Linked DNA regions of Homo sapiens: all the other regions are linked to region 2. Evidence: promoter capture Hi-C in human tissues and cell types (Jung and others, 2019). All regions are on one chromosome and are shown on one strand. The core of a region is centred on a gene start or on the middle of the fragment in contact, and the rest is flanking DNA. Distances in the headings are between cores, read along the strand shown. Region 1 overlaps LHPP (phospholysine phosphohistidine inorganic pyrophosphate phosphatase). Region 2 holds the start of CTBP2 (C-terminal binding protein 2). Region 3 overlaps EDRF1 (erythroid differentiation regulatory factor 1).

What was found. Contacts are between HindIII fragments. The study calls those that stand out against the background at their distance.
Region 1: a fragment that was not itself captured here is called in contact with the fragment with the promoter of CTBP2 in region 2 in 1 of the 25 tissues and cell types used here (adrenal gland).
Region 3: a contact is called between a fragment that was not itself captured here and the fragment with the promoter of CTBP2 in region 2, in 1 of the 25 tissues and cell types used here (hippocampus).

The regions. Positions count from the first base shown.
Region 1 is chr10:124,529,547-124,533,557 of GRCh38, forward strand. The region is part of intron 6 of LHPP (phospholysine phosphohistidine inorganic pyrophosphate phosphatase); the gene reads left to right. Among named protein-coding and RNA genes, the nearest start is that of LHPP, 70 kb to the left of the region's middle. RefSeq lists a silencer at 551-670 and an enhancer at 3,547-4,011. The HindIII fragment of the contact is 8,411 bases long and covers 1-4,011 here.
Region 2 is chr10:125,157,815-125,162,061 of GRCh38, forward strand. It overlaps CTBP2 (C-terminal binding protein 2), which reads right to left and starts at 2,749. Exons shown (of 11, transcript NM_001329.4): 1 at 2,505-2,749. RefSeq lists an enhancer at 3,520-4,129. The HindIII fragment of the contact is 19,174 bases long and covers 1-4,247 here.
Region 3 is chr10:125,725,123-125,729,502 of GRCh38, forward strand. EDRF1 (erythroid differentiation regulatory factor 1) reads left to right here. Exons shown (of 25, transcript NM_001202438.2): 5 at 196-320; 6 at 560-716; 7 at 3,881-3,982; 8 at 4,236-4,357. Among named protein-coding and RNA genes, the nearest start is that of EDRF1, 7.6 kb to the left of the region's middle. The HindIII fragment of the contact is 3,858 bases long and covers 1-3,531 here.

The DNA.
Region 1 (4,011 bases), core at 231-2,730, 630 kb before region 2:
TCCTCATTACTGAGCAAAAATTTGTGCAGAGGAGTGCTCTACACTTTCCAAGGGTTTAATCCAGGAGCTGAGGGCCAGGGGCTCCATGACTGTAGACTCAACATCCTGGGCCACAGCCATCCGTGAGGGGGAGGACGAGGGGCCACGCCCTGCACTCTGTCCCAGCATCCCCTCTCCCTGGAGCCATGCAGAGATGGCCTCATTTCATCCCACACTCACATGCGGGTCCTAGACACCAGCTCATGCACATACACACACACACACACGCACACACACACACACACACATGCGCACATGCACCCACGCACTCTCTTTGCCTGTGGGAGGGCAGGATCCCAGCTGCCCCAGCGGGGAAGGGGTGTGGGGAATCAGCCCTGCAGATGCGGTGTGAGGGGCAGACATGGCATGCTGGTCTTTGGCAGTGTGGTCCCAAGTGGGGGCGGCTGGAGAGGTGCCTTGCCACAGGGCCCAGGCCACCCGCATGCATCCCATGAGGCCGTCCAAGCCCGTCTGCCCTGCATCAGAGAGGACACCCCAATGCGGGGAGGGAGGAACCTGGTGAAGCCAGGAGCGGTGGGCAGGGGCCAGCAAGGATCCCCAGGCCCCCAGGGCAGTGTGCATCCGGCCTTCTTGCATGCCCACCTGGCATCCTGCCTGCCGCCTCCTGCCTCCCGCCCCACCCCTCCTGCGTCCCAGCCTGGTGGACCTCTCAGGGTTCACTCTCATTTCCTCCTCCCCACGCCACCTGCTCGGGCCACAAGAGGGCGCCTTGCTGCCAGGGATGGGACAGGCCGGGCCTGCTGGAGCCAGGGCCGATGCACGCACAGCTACATACACTCACCCGGGCCCACGTGTGCTCACGAGGGGCCCCCATACCCACACGATCCCGCATCCACATGTGCGCACGCCAGGCCCCACAGGTTCTCAGGCCCAGGCCACACATCCACAGGTGCCCACTCTCATGCTGGCCTCATAGTGCATGCACACACACACACACACACACATATACATACACTCACGCCCAGACCCCCCCACGCCCCAGGCCACACATGTGGGCCTGCTCACACCCCACTCATTCCCTCCCAGATGCCGCACCACCCCCATGCCCTGTGTGCCCTCTGCCTCTCGGGGCCCTGGGGCCCCAGCTCCAAGAACCACGGGCTTGCTTTAGCCAGGCTTCCACAAGCCTGCCCATTCCTCAGGACACTGACCCTCTCCTCTGCCACCCTTCACGGGTGCAGACGATGAGCATGGAGAACACCACAGCGCACAGGGCCGAGGGCCACCATCAGAGTCTCCTGCAGCCCTGGATTCCCTGGGCCTGAAGCAGGCAGAGCGGCCAAGGTAGCCTCATCAGCCTCACCAGCCCGTCCTTCTTGTCTCCCTGGCACCTTGTCAGAGAGAGGCCTAAGAACACGCTCTGGGCATTGGGGGCCTCCCAGTGTTCCCTGCGAGTTTGGAGAGGCCAGGTCCCTGGGATGAGGACACGCCCACCCGCCAAGCTCCCCTCCTGCCAGTCCCACCTGGAGCCTTTATGCATGCTGTCTGCGCCCTTCACCTGTCCCACCACCTCTTCTTTGGCCTGCCTGGATCCTGCCATATCCTCAAGGCCTTCCCTGGTGATGGAATTCCAGAGTCCTCCCAATTGCAAGGGCCTGAGGGATCCGCTGCCCTCCAACCCCACACCCCGTCTCAAGGTCATGTGCTAATCCCGTGCAAGCTGGGGTGTGGGCTGGCTGCCATGTCAAGCTCGTTTCTGTTGTACCCAAAACACAGTCTCACCTCCAGAAGAATTACCTGGCACTCCCTGGAGTTCCCGCAGCCTTCTCATTTTCAAATAATTTTTCAGATTTCCAGAATAGAAAGAAATTCCATACACCCTTCTCCCAGAGACAGACCCCATTCAAGCTTTGCCAATCATTCCATGAACTCCTCTAGAGAGGGGAAGACCCAGTCCGGGGCCAGGCAGCTCTCTCTGGTCTCTCTGGACTCCGTCCTGGAGCACTTCCCTGTCCTCGCCTCAGTTCTCACAGATTGCCAGTTTTGAAGATTACGAGACAGTCATTTTGTGTGGTGTTTTCTCATGATACAACCCAAGTTACGCGTTTGGGGCTAGCATTGCTTAGAAGTGGTGCTGTGCTTGTTCTCATAGGCATGTAATGTTGGTTTGCCCAAATATTGCTGATGTTAACCTTGACCTCTTGTTTAATGGCAACCACATAATGTGTTTTTCCCCTTTGTGATTGATACGTATTTGTGGGGAGATGCTTTGAGGTGATGCGATGTCCCACTTTCATCTGCCAGTTTTAGTGTCCCTTAGTATTTCTTGTTTGAATGAATGATTTCTATGATGGTCGCCAAATAACTCCATCATTCTTCCTTGTATTTACTCCTGGTGTTTTACTTTAAGGAAAGATGTTCTCTTCTTTCCACTGATTGATGTATGCCAGTGTGGGCTCGTGGCTTCCTATGTAATTCAGTGGGTTATCGTCTGTTAACCGTCATCACTGGGATATTCAGATGGTCCCCGACGCAGGCACTGGCAGCCCCTTCAGGCTGGCCCTGTGACCTTTCGGCACATCCTCACCGTTCTTTGAGCCCTTCCTTGCATTTTGGCCCAAAAAGATGTTTCAGGTTCATTTGTTCAGTCTTTGCTTCAGCCCTGGAATCGGCCATTTCTCCAAGGAGCCCCAGTTCCTTCCAGTGGAGGGCACTGTTTAGAATCTCAGCCCAGGGCCCCAGGTGTGCTTGTGTTGTCTCTGGGCATTGCTGCTCAGGCCCTGGCGGTGGACAGAGGTAGGAAAGATGCGCATGGTATGCAGGTGTGACACACACATGCGTCCATGCTTACCCTACCCACCTGGACCTGCCCAAAAGCCCGAGCTCACAGCAGTGCCTCCGATTCCAGTCCAGCAGCACAGGGTTCCTTCTCACCTCATGCCTTTACACGTTCATGCCTTCCTTCCACAGCAGGGAGAAGCCTGGCTTCCTCATTCTCTCTCCATCTGCTTATCGCTCTATCCCATGTAGAGCCAAGTCCCTGACCTTGCCTGTGGTGGACACTCTGCGTTTGTTAAACTGAATAACAACAATCCTCCCTATTGGGAGAAACCTTTTCAGCTTCCCAGGCCATTTCTGCATTTGTGGTTCTCTTCCAAGCCTCTTGGGTAGGCATAGAAAGTCTTCTCTGTTTTCCAGGGAAGCTGCAGACTCACCCAGCATCACCCAGCTGGTAAGGGTGTAGCAGGACAGTGCCAGCATGTCTGTCCCAACTGTCCCTATGGCCCCTATGGAAGATTAGCTATGTGGTGGCAAAGTGTCCCGAGGAAGGGGCATTCTGGGATGTTCAGGTGCTCGACTGGGCTGGGACTTGTACTTTGGAAATGAGAAGAAGCCCAGGCTCAAATCTTTGCCCCACTGCTTGCTGGCAGGAAGACCACTGAGCCTCAGTTTTCTCATCTGTAAAATGGACTTATTTTGGACTTACTTCCCAGGTATCCTCAGCACCTTTATTACAGGAGCTCCATTAATACATGGCTGCAGGAGGTAGTTCAGGGAAGCAATGGGAGTGGAATGCTGGGTGCATCACGGCCTGGGGTTGTCAGCCTGGCCTCTGCAGGCATCTGAGATATTCCTGAGGGCAGATTCAGCCAGGCCAACACTTCTGGATAGAACCACAGGGCCATAAACTGAGACCATTGAGGGAGACTGCTTGGCTTGGAAAACTCGCCCAGGGACCATGTGCTCTGATTTGCAAAATGCACCCCCCAGAGCGGCTTCCTGCCTTCACTTTGTGCAGAGTTGGGGGCGGCAGGGGCGTGGGGGGTTGGATGGACCATGTCACCCAAAAGTTTGTGTCCTCGGATGGGGAGGGGAGAGCGTCTGCCCAAGCACAGCCTGGAGGCTTCCCTTACTTCCGATGACCTTGTGGCAGTCAGTGTCACCCGGACAGAGTGTGGCACGCCTTGGGGACCAGCCCCTCCCAGAAGGATAGGCGCTTGATTGGAAACG
Region 2 (4,247 bases), core at 1,499-3,998:
TTTTGCAAGAAAGAGGGCCTGTTTTTTTGCTTGAAATCTACCATCTCATTAACTTTTCTTTTGGGGGCAATAAAAAGGGCACTAGGGGTTTTTCAGGAGAATGTCAGAGCAGTTCAGAGATCTGATGCCAGACAAAAGAATATTTAGCGTTTCAACTCTACGATACAGTCTCTGCTAAAGAAAAAAATTCTGTTTCAACATTAAAGCAGCTATGACTGAAAATGTCTAATTAGCATTTTGACTATTACTTTATAATTGCTGTAAGAAGTATCCTTTGAAATCAAGTGATTACAAAAACAAGATCCTTTAAAGTCTCATTACTTCAAAATAGAAAAGATTTATATTTAAAAAAAAAGGGGGGGGTTAAAAACCTCAGAATTCTCAAAGTACATGAAAACTACCCACTTCTACTTGGAAAACCCTCGAGGCAAAACAGCAATCTTAGGTACTGAACACGAGGTAATTTTTAAACTGTCTTCGAACCCAAACACCTAGTAGAGAAAGCTATCTTTTTTGAAAGGGTGGTATGAGTCGATATATTTCGCCCAAGTTAGAAAGGCAGAAAGAATCACTTTGTAAACTTCCCCAAAATATAACGTCCCCTCAAAATTATCCATGTCAGATAAAAATATACCAGTCTCTAGAATATCCAACAGAATTGCAAATAAGGCGTTTAGCATTTTAAATTCCCAATGCATATTTATAGAATAGAATTCTCTTGTCTATCCTTCCAGCCACTCGCATCAGACTCTCTAAGAACTTAACCCGATCTCCAATCTTTAAAGAAAAAAGGGGGTAAATACACAGAAGGATTGTTTACCCCGGACAGGGCAAGGAAGCCCGGTATGACGACGTAGGCCATTGCCAGCAGCCTCCACCACGAGCACGCAGAGCGGGGATTTCTACGAAAAATTCCTCCTCTTCCCTATAAAATCCTAAACGTGGGGTCCTCTGCAGCCAACTGCCGCTTGGGCCGCCTCCGGAAAAAGTACCGGGCGGGGGGAGGGGGGACAACCACAAACACTCGCGCGCACACGCTCACTCCGTGTCCGCGACCGTCGTCGCCGGCGGAAAGCGAGCCACGGGAGGGAGTGTGTGCGCGCGTGTGTGTCTCGGCGCGGCCCGCGGTGACCGAGCTGAGCTCTTGGGCCCGCGGCCTCCGAGCCCCAGGGCGCGGCGTGGGCTGCAGGCGACCCGCCACGCCGCTGGGCCTCCCGCGGGAGAAAGGCCCAGGCACGCCCCGGCTCCCGCGCGCCTCTGCCCAACTCGCCCGGGGCGCTGGGGGCAGCGCGAGGGAGAGAAAGAAAGGCGCTTCCCCTCGGCCGCGCGGGGCCGTCCGGCGCCGCGGAGGGCTGGGAGGAGGAGGAACCGCGGCGGCCCGGCTGTCCCTGCGCCGCACCGGGTCCCTGCCGCCCGGGGCGCGCCCTAGCCAGCCCCTCCTGCTAAACTTTTTCTTTTTGATTCGCCCCACCCGAAAAGTGCGGCCCGGGCGGGGAAGGTGGGGGAGGCGGGCGGGCCGGGCTCCCGGCGGCGGCGGGCGAGGAGGAAGTGGTGCCCGCGGGAGCGCGGCCGGGCAGAGGAAATGCCCGGCCCGCCCGGCCCCCGCCCGCGCCCGCCGCCCGGCCCGCCCAGGCCCCCCGCCCCGCCGCGACTTTGGCGGGCCGAGCCCCGCGCGGCAGTGGCGGCGGCGGCAGCGGCAGCAGATGTGGCCCGGCTGCCCGGAGGAGCCAACAATGCGGGGCCGGCAAAACAAAAGGGTTCCACTTCGCCTCCTTTCCCGTCTTTCACTTGCGCTCCCGGGGAGCCGCGCGGGATCCCCCGCCGGCAGGGGCAGCGCCCCTGGGGACCGAGAGCCGCTCACGCCCCGACTTCCCCACGGAACCCCTCTTCTCCGCGCCCCCCCCACCCTCGCCTCGTAGGCGCAAGGCCCGCCGCACCCCGGCGCGCTCGGACTCCTGTTCCCCGGAGATCCGGCCGTATTGTCCCCGCGGCGCGTCGCGCGCTCGGCCTGGGTCGCCGGCGGCCCCCGGGCGCGCACCCACCGGGCTCAGGGAGCAGGAGCCGGGGGCGCCCAGGGAACCGTCGCCGAGACGCCGCCGCCGCCGCCGCCGCTGCCCTCCGGACGCCGCCGCGCTCGGGGTTTCTTTTTTTTTTTTTTTCAACCCTGATGGGAAGGAAGGTGACCGCCTACTTCGCATTCATCAACTCTCATCACAACAACAAAAATCCTGGCGCAAACGGCGGCCAGCGGGCGCAATCGGTGGCGGGGGCGGGCGGGGACCCCCGAGCCAGCGTCCACCCCCGGGCGCCGAGGGGGGACACGAGGCCGGGGGCACGGACCAAAGATGTCCTCGGATGCCGGCTCCGCGTCCTTCGCCCTCTTCCTCCTCCTCCTCCTCCTCCCTGAGTGGCGCAGTGAGGCGCGGGCGCGGCGCCCCCAGCCCGCGGCCGCAGGTGAGGCGGGGGCGGCGGCGGCCCCAGCCCTCCCCCGGGGCCCCCCTTACCTCGTCCCGGACGGTCGGCGTCCACGGCGAAAGGCGCCCACCCTGGAGGCGGCGGCGGCGGCGTCTCCCGCCCCTCCCACCCCACCCGGCGGCGGTGGCGGTGGCGGCGGCTGTGCGGCCCCCCCTCAGCGCGGCATGGCTCCCGGTTCGGTCCCTCGCTCCTCGGGCCGCCGCCGGCTCCTCCGGGCCGCTCCCGAGCCACCTTAAAATGACACACGCACACAGGGACACACACACAAAAACTTAATCTCTCCAGCTCCCCGCCCCTCCCCCTCCCGCCCTCCCCACCCTCCCTCCGCTCCCCTCCCCTCCCCACCCTACCCCTCCCTTCCCTTCCACCTCCTCCCCTCGCCGCCGAGCCTCTTCCTACTTCCCCACCCACCCCACCCCCTTCCTCCGCCCACCCGGTTCCCAATTCCCCCCGCGTCCCGGCCCCGCGCCCTCCCGCCCGCCGAGAGGGGGCTGCGCTGGGGGTCCCCGGCCCGGGCCCGCCCCGCGCCGCGCTCACCCCCGAGAGGATGCTAATTCCAACTTGGATCGGGGGAGGGAACGTCCTGGATGCCGAGCGCCTCCCGGCTATTTGCTCTTCTTTATTTGTTTTCTCCTCCGGGGAAGGAGAAGGAAAACGGAGAGAAAAGGAAAGGAAAGAAGCGGCGCTGGCCGCAGCTCCCGGTACCCGCTGGCTGCGCAGGAGCTAGGCGGGAGGCGAGGTGAGGGTCGCCGCTCGCTCACTCCTCGCTCCTGTTTTTGGGGGGGGGGGGCAAAGGCGGGGTCTCTTTTTGCAAACCAATGACACAACCCCACATGGGCCGGCCTCGCCCCCTTCAGATACTCCTCACTACAAATCGGCTCTCTCGGGGGATTAGTGGCTCCGCGAAAGTGCACACAAGCGCGGCGGGCGGGAGGGCCAGGGGCCGGGCGCGGCGGGCACTCCCTAGCCCGGCCCCGCCCGGGAGGCCCTCGGGAGGCGCGGGGGCCTCGGTGGCAGGGGCCGAGGTCCTGTCGCGGTGGCTCGGGGTCCGCTGCTCCCCTGGCCCTTCATCCTCCTCCGCCCCTTCCACGTGGGGTACCGGGCAGCCGGCCACGTGGGGGAACGCGAGCCCCGGGTGGCCCCGGTCCCATGGGGCCCCGCCCAGCCAGCGGCGCCAACCAGCCCCCTTCCCGGCCCCCGGGCTCCAACTTCCTCCTGGTGCCCCGCACCGGCCGCTTCTGCCTTCTCAGGCCCGCGGGGTCAGGCGCGGGCCGGCCACAGGGGGCACTTGCGCTCCCCAAATCCAGATCCGGGAGACCGTGCCGGAGAGGCGGCGACCGCTGTGGGTGCGCAGGGAAGGGCCCTCTGTGCTGCAAGTTGCAGCAGTGCTGTGCCCTAAAAGAAGCAAAACATTCTTACACATTGAAAAAAAAAAAAAAGGTTCCCTCTTGCTGCCTGGATCTCGCCGGGGCATTTGAGAAGCCCTGTGTTGGGTCGGAGCCCCGGGTCTCGAGGAGGGAGGCGCGCTGCGGCGTGGGGGCCCGCGACTCGGGGTCCTGGGCTTGCGCGGCGGCCCGGAGCCCACGCCGTCCTGACGTCTCAAGGTTGGAGTCTGCACAGCGAGCCTGGGAATCCAGGCCCAGCGGCCGCTCGCGGCCCAACGAGCACCTGGGCTAAATTCCCCGCCCGTGACCCGCGACGTCCGAGCGCCGTCTCCGGAAGGGAGCTGGTGGCCGTGGAGTGTGGGGTCTTCTCCCTGCGCCCCAGGGCCC
Region 3 (4,380 bases), core at 353-2,852, 570 kb after region 2:
GAAGACGGGTTTCCTTTAGGAAACAAAAAACAAAAGAAAGGTGGTATGAATTGACCCAGAAAGATATGTTTTTAATGAGTATGTGTTTATGAAACTATTCAAAAAATAATAGGAGCCTTTTCTGTAAGCTAGTACTAGGTAACATTGTTTCGACTATGTGTGTTGTATTAATAATATGTATCTCATGTTATCCAGACTGGTGACTGGACATGGTTGAAAGAGTTTTATCAAAGACTCATTGATCAGAAGTGGCAGAGGAAGAAAAAGAGCAAAGAGCACTGGTATCAAAAGGCAATTCTTTCCAAGTTTTTATATTACAGGTACTTGGCTACTTATTTATCTCTAAAGAGAAAAAGGGAATTCTGATCTAAAATTTAGTGTGAAGCTTAATGAAGTTATAATTTAAGTTTTGCCCCTGTGATACTGTTAACATTTGTTTCATATTTCTTTTTTACAAGATGTATGCTTAATTACAGATTGTAGTTTTTATAAACGGGTAGACTGTTGCATGAAGTTAACTTTAGTAACAGCAATCCTTTTTTATTTCTGGTTTGGCCAGTATCAATGGTGATGGAGCCGCTCAGCCTGTCTCATCCACCGCAGAACAGCAGGAATCGTCCAGTTCAGATCAGACAAATGATTCGGAAGGGGCTTCATGGCCTGCTCCCTTCGAAATGCCTTCTTCAGTTTCTGAAGATCCCAGTGCTTCCAGTCAGGTTAGTACTTAAATGCTAATTCTAGAAACTCACATAGGAAAACAAAGCCTTTTTTAACATCTCGTTAAAAAAAAAAAAAGATGAACAGGACTAAGAAATATTCTGTCAGCTTATGGAATGGGGGAAAAAAGACTTCTGTCAATTTATGGAATTGGAGAAATACTTTTTAGTTTTTCGCAATAGAATTTACAAGAGCTATTATAGGTGGGGAGATCAGATTTTTTTATTAAATCGAAATATAATAGTTGACTGATATGTTTATTAATACTGATTATCTCCTTCAAGTGATGAGTATTATATAGAGATATAGTATATTTTAATTATAAATACTAGTCATTTTTAACTATAAATACTATTTTAACTATAAATATCTGTCAATATTTGATAGACATTTCCTACCAAATATTGAGACTCAGAGACCCATTTGTAATTTAAGTTCTAACCTTTTTACCATAACTTTCAGTCAGATTGTTAGACCTAAAATATCCCTTTAAGGTTTTCCAGATAAAATTCCTGAAACTTAGTCCACATTCATGTTATAAAAGTTTTAGAAAAGAGAATGAACTAGGTTGTCCATTTTATCTCTTACATCCTTGTTTCTTCCTAATGCTTGTTTATTTTTGTACTTACTGTATCTATCAAAGAATAAAATAAAGCCATAGATGTAAATTGTGACATGTCTATTTTCAGGAAAATAGATTGATAAATAGATAATAAGATCTGTGACTTGATAAGTTACGTCTTCCCTCTTGCTGTTGTGTTCCCACATATTGAGCACTATTCAACCAGATTGTTTCAATCTTCACAAATTACAGGGAGCAGATACATTTAACTCGATTTTAGTTTCAGTAGGTTTAAGATAGAGAAAGCATCCCATAAAACTCCATAATGAATTTAAATTTCTTTCAAAAGTGAGAAAAATGTAAGGAAAAGGAAGTAATTAATATGCAAGTCACATAGTGGTAACAACCAAGAAGTAGGGATGTTCTATGATTCAGAAGGGAGAAAAGACTACATAATACAAATACTACCCTCCTATTACCCATGTCACCCATCTCCCAGTGTTGTTCTGTCTTTACCTTGTTTAGGAATTACTGTGAAAACTCTTGGAGAGTCGGGAATCTGTAGACTTGCGTGTTGAGGAAGCAAGCTGGCATTTACTGAATAGCTCTTATGCCATGTGTATGTTTGTACAAGGTTTTTTTTTTCATTCTTGGAGCTGCGTATTGTACAAATAAGTAAACTAACGCTCATCAAAAGATGTTTCACATGGTCATACAGCTGGCGAAACTCTCAGGCTAGGGCTTAAACCCAGATCTTTCTGCCTGCAGAGGCCTGTTCCTCCAGCAGTACTCCACTGTGTCCGTGTACTCCACACACAGCAAGGCCCTACTAACAGTCAGATCATCGTAGTAGTGGTGTATCCCTAGGCACAGCTAGCCTGCCTTAAGAGTCTCTTACAGAGTACTTTTCTTATATTGCTTAAATTTCAGCTTTAGAGATTTGTTTATATTTGCAAGCTATCTCTGCACAAATTCTTGTTCCAAAAACTAAAACTGCTGGCTTGAGGCCTTTGTTAAGCAGTTATAGAGGTTAAATAGGTGACTGTGGGATGGTCCTAGAGCCAGACATTTATTGAGAACGTTGTAACCTAGAGCTCATACTCTGACTAAAGCAACTGCCTGGCAAACTGTTTTGAGAATCGGTTCATGAGTTGATAACTTGTCTGTGTAAACAAATAATAAAATAAAAAAGAGTTTAAAGTTCTCTTAGGACTCCTGAGGGAGAGGACAAGGCACAATAGAAGTGCTAGAGAGCCACCTGTGCTTATAGTCACACACTCTTCCCAAGCAGGTGCCAAGCCTACTGGCACACACAGATGACAAGTAAGACAGATGTTTGTGGAATAAGCAACACACGCATGCCTGTCTTGGGTTCTGTTGAGGCAATGACATTAAAAGCTTAAAGTAGTATTTCTTAATGGCAGTACTACTTTCCTAATGATTGGAAAATTGAGTGGTAGGCTGAGTTTACCCAGTGTCAAGAGGGCCCAAGTGTATTCCAAAATGCATTCCAGGCTGGGCGCAGTGGCTTATGCCTGTAATCCCAGCACTTTGGGAGGCCGAGGTGGGTGGATCACTTGAGGCCCGGAGTTAGAGACCAGCCTGGCCAACATGGCGAAACCCCATCTCTATTTAAAAAAAGAAAAAAAAATTAGCCGGGCATGGTGGCACGTGCCTGTAATCCCAGCTACTCGGGAGGCTGAGGTAGGAGAATTGCTTGAACCCAGGAGGCGGAGGTTGCAGTGAGCTGAGATCATGTCACTGCACTCTGGCCTGGGCAACTCTGTCTCAAAAAAAAAAAAAAAAGTATTCCAGAGAATATCTTAAGAACAAAAAGTGTTCTGAGATTAAATACATTTGGGAAACATTGGTTTTTACAAAGATAAAGTAGATTTTTCTATTGCAGGATTACTTATTATATATTTATTGTTTTAATATCAATAAATATTGTTACTCCACAAAAGTGAGTACCTGGTAAACGTCATCTTTCAAACCTGACTCTGGAAAATTTTCATTCAGTTTCCCAGGAACTAGTGTTCTGTGAAACACTCATCAGGAAATGCTAAACTGGAGACTGTTAAGATAATGAGTATCTCAAACTGTGGCTGAGTAAGATTTCTTAGGGTTTCTTTTTTTTAAGAGACAGACTCTCATTATGTTGTCCAGGCTGGATTCGAACTCCTGGGCTCAAGCAGTTCTCCCCTGTCGACCTCCCACATAGCTTGGACTACAAGCACATGCCATCGTGCCTGGCCAGTTTCTTAGGAATTTTTAAATTCAATATAGATAGAGTAGGCTGAAAGAGCAGTGGTAATCAGATGCACCAAAAAAGAGAAAAATGAAAAACTTAGAAAGTTTAGAATAATCTTTAATCTATCTCTCTTGAGTAAGATCTAAATGTGATTCGCTTCTTATAGTAGCTATGATCATTAGCCAAAGCAAGCCACCCAATGAGGCGTGTTATTATTTGTATTGGCCTAATAATTCACAATGGTAGATTTGAAGTGTGTGCTTTGAATATTTAGGTGATACTCTCAAAAGTGGGTCAATTTTAAGAAATGTTGACAGCAGAATCACTCCTTATCCTTGCACTTTTCACAGGGAAGTGAGCCTCTTGAACCCTCATACATAGTGGGGCATGTGGCCTCAGCCCCCAAAGAACAAAACCTGATTACTTTATTCAATGACGGGGAGCACAGTCAGGTATGCTTTCCATGGTGTCCAAGGTGACAGCAAATCCCCAGTCTACTTTGTCATTTCAAAACTAGCCTAAGTCGAAATTGATAGGGAAAAACTCCACTTGATCCTGAAACTGCTTTCTAAGCATCTTTGTGATCTTAGCTCTGGGGCCTGACTTTGTCTTCTTTGTCTCTTCCTTTTTCTAGTCTTTTTATGGATCATGGGGGGAAATTACAGATTGACTGTTTATTATAATCCTCCCTATTTTAAATCACAGGGTCTTAAAAATGATTTTGTTCGGAATATTCTATGGACATTTGAAGATATCCATATGTTGGTCGGCTCCAACATGCCCATATTTGGAGGAGGCAGATACCCAGCAGTCAGCTTACGTCTCAGGTGAACTAACATCATACCCCTCC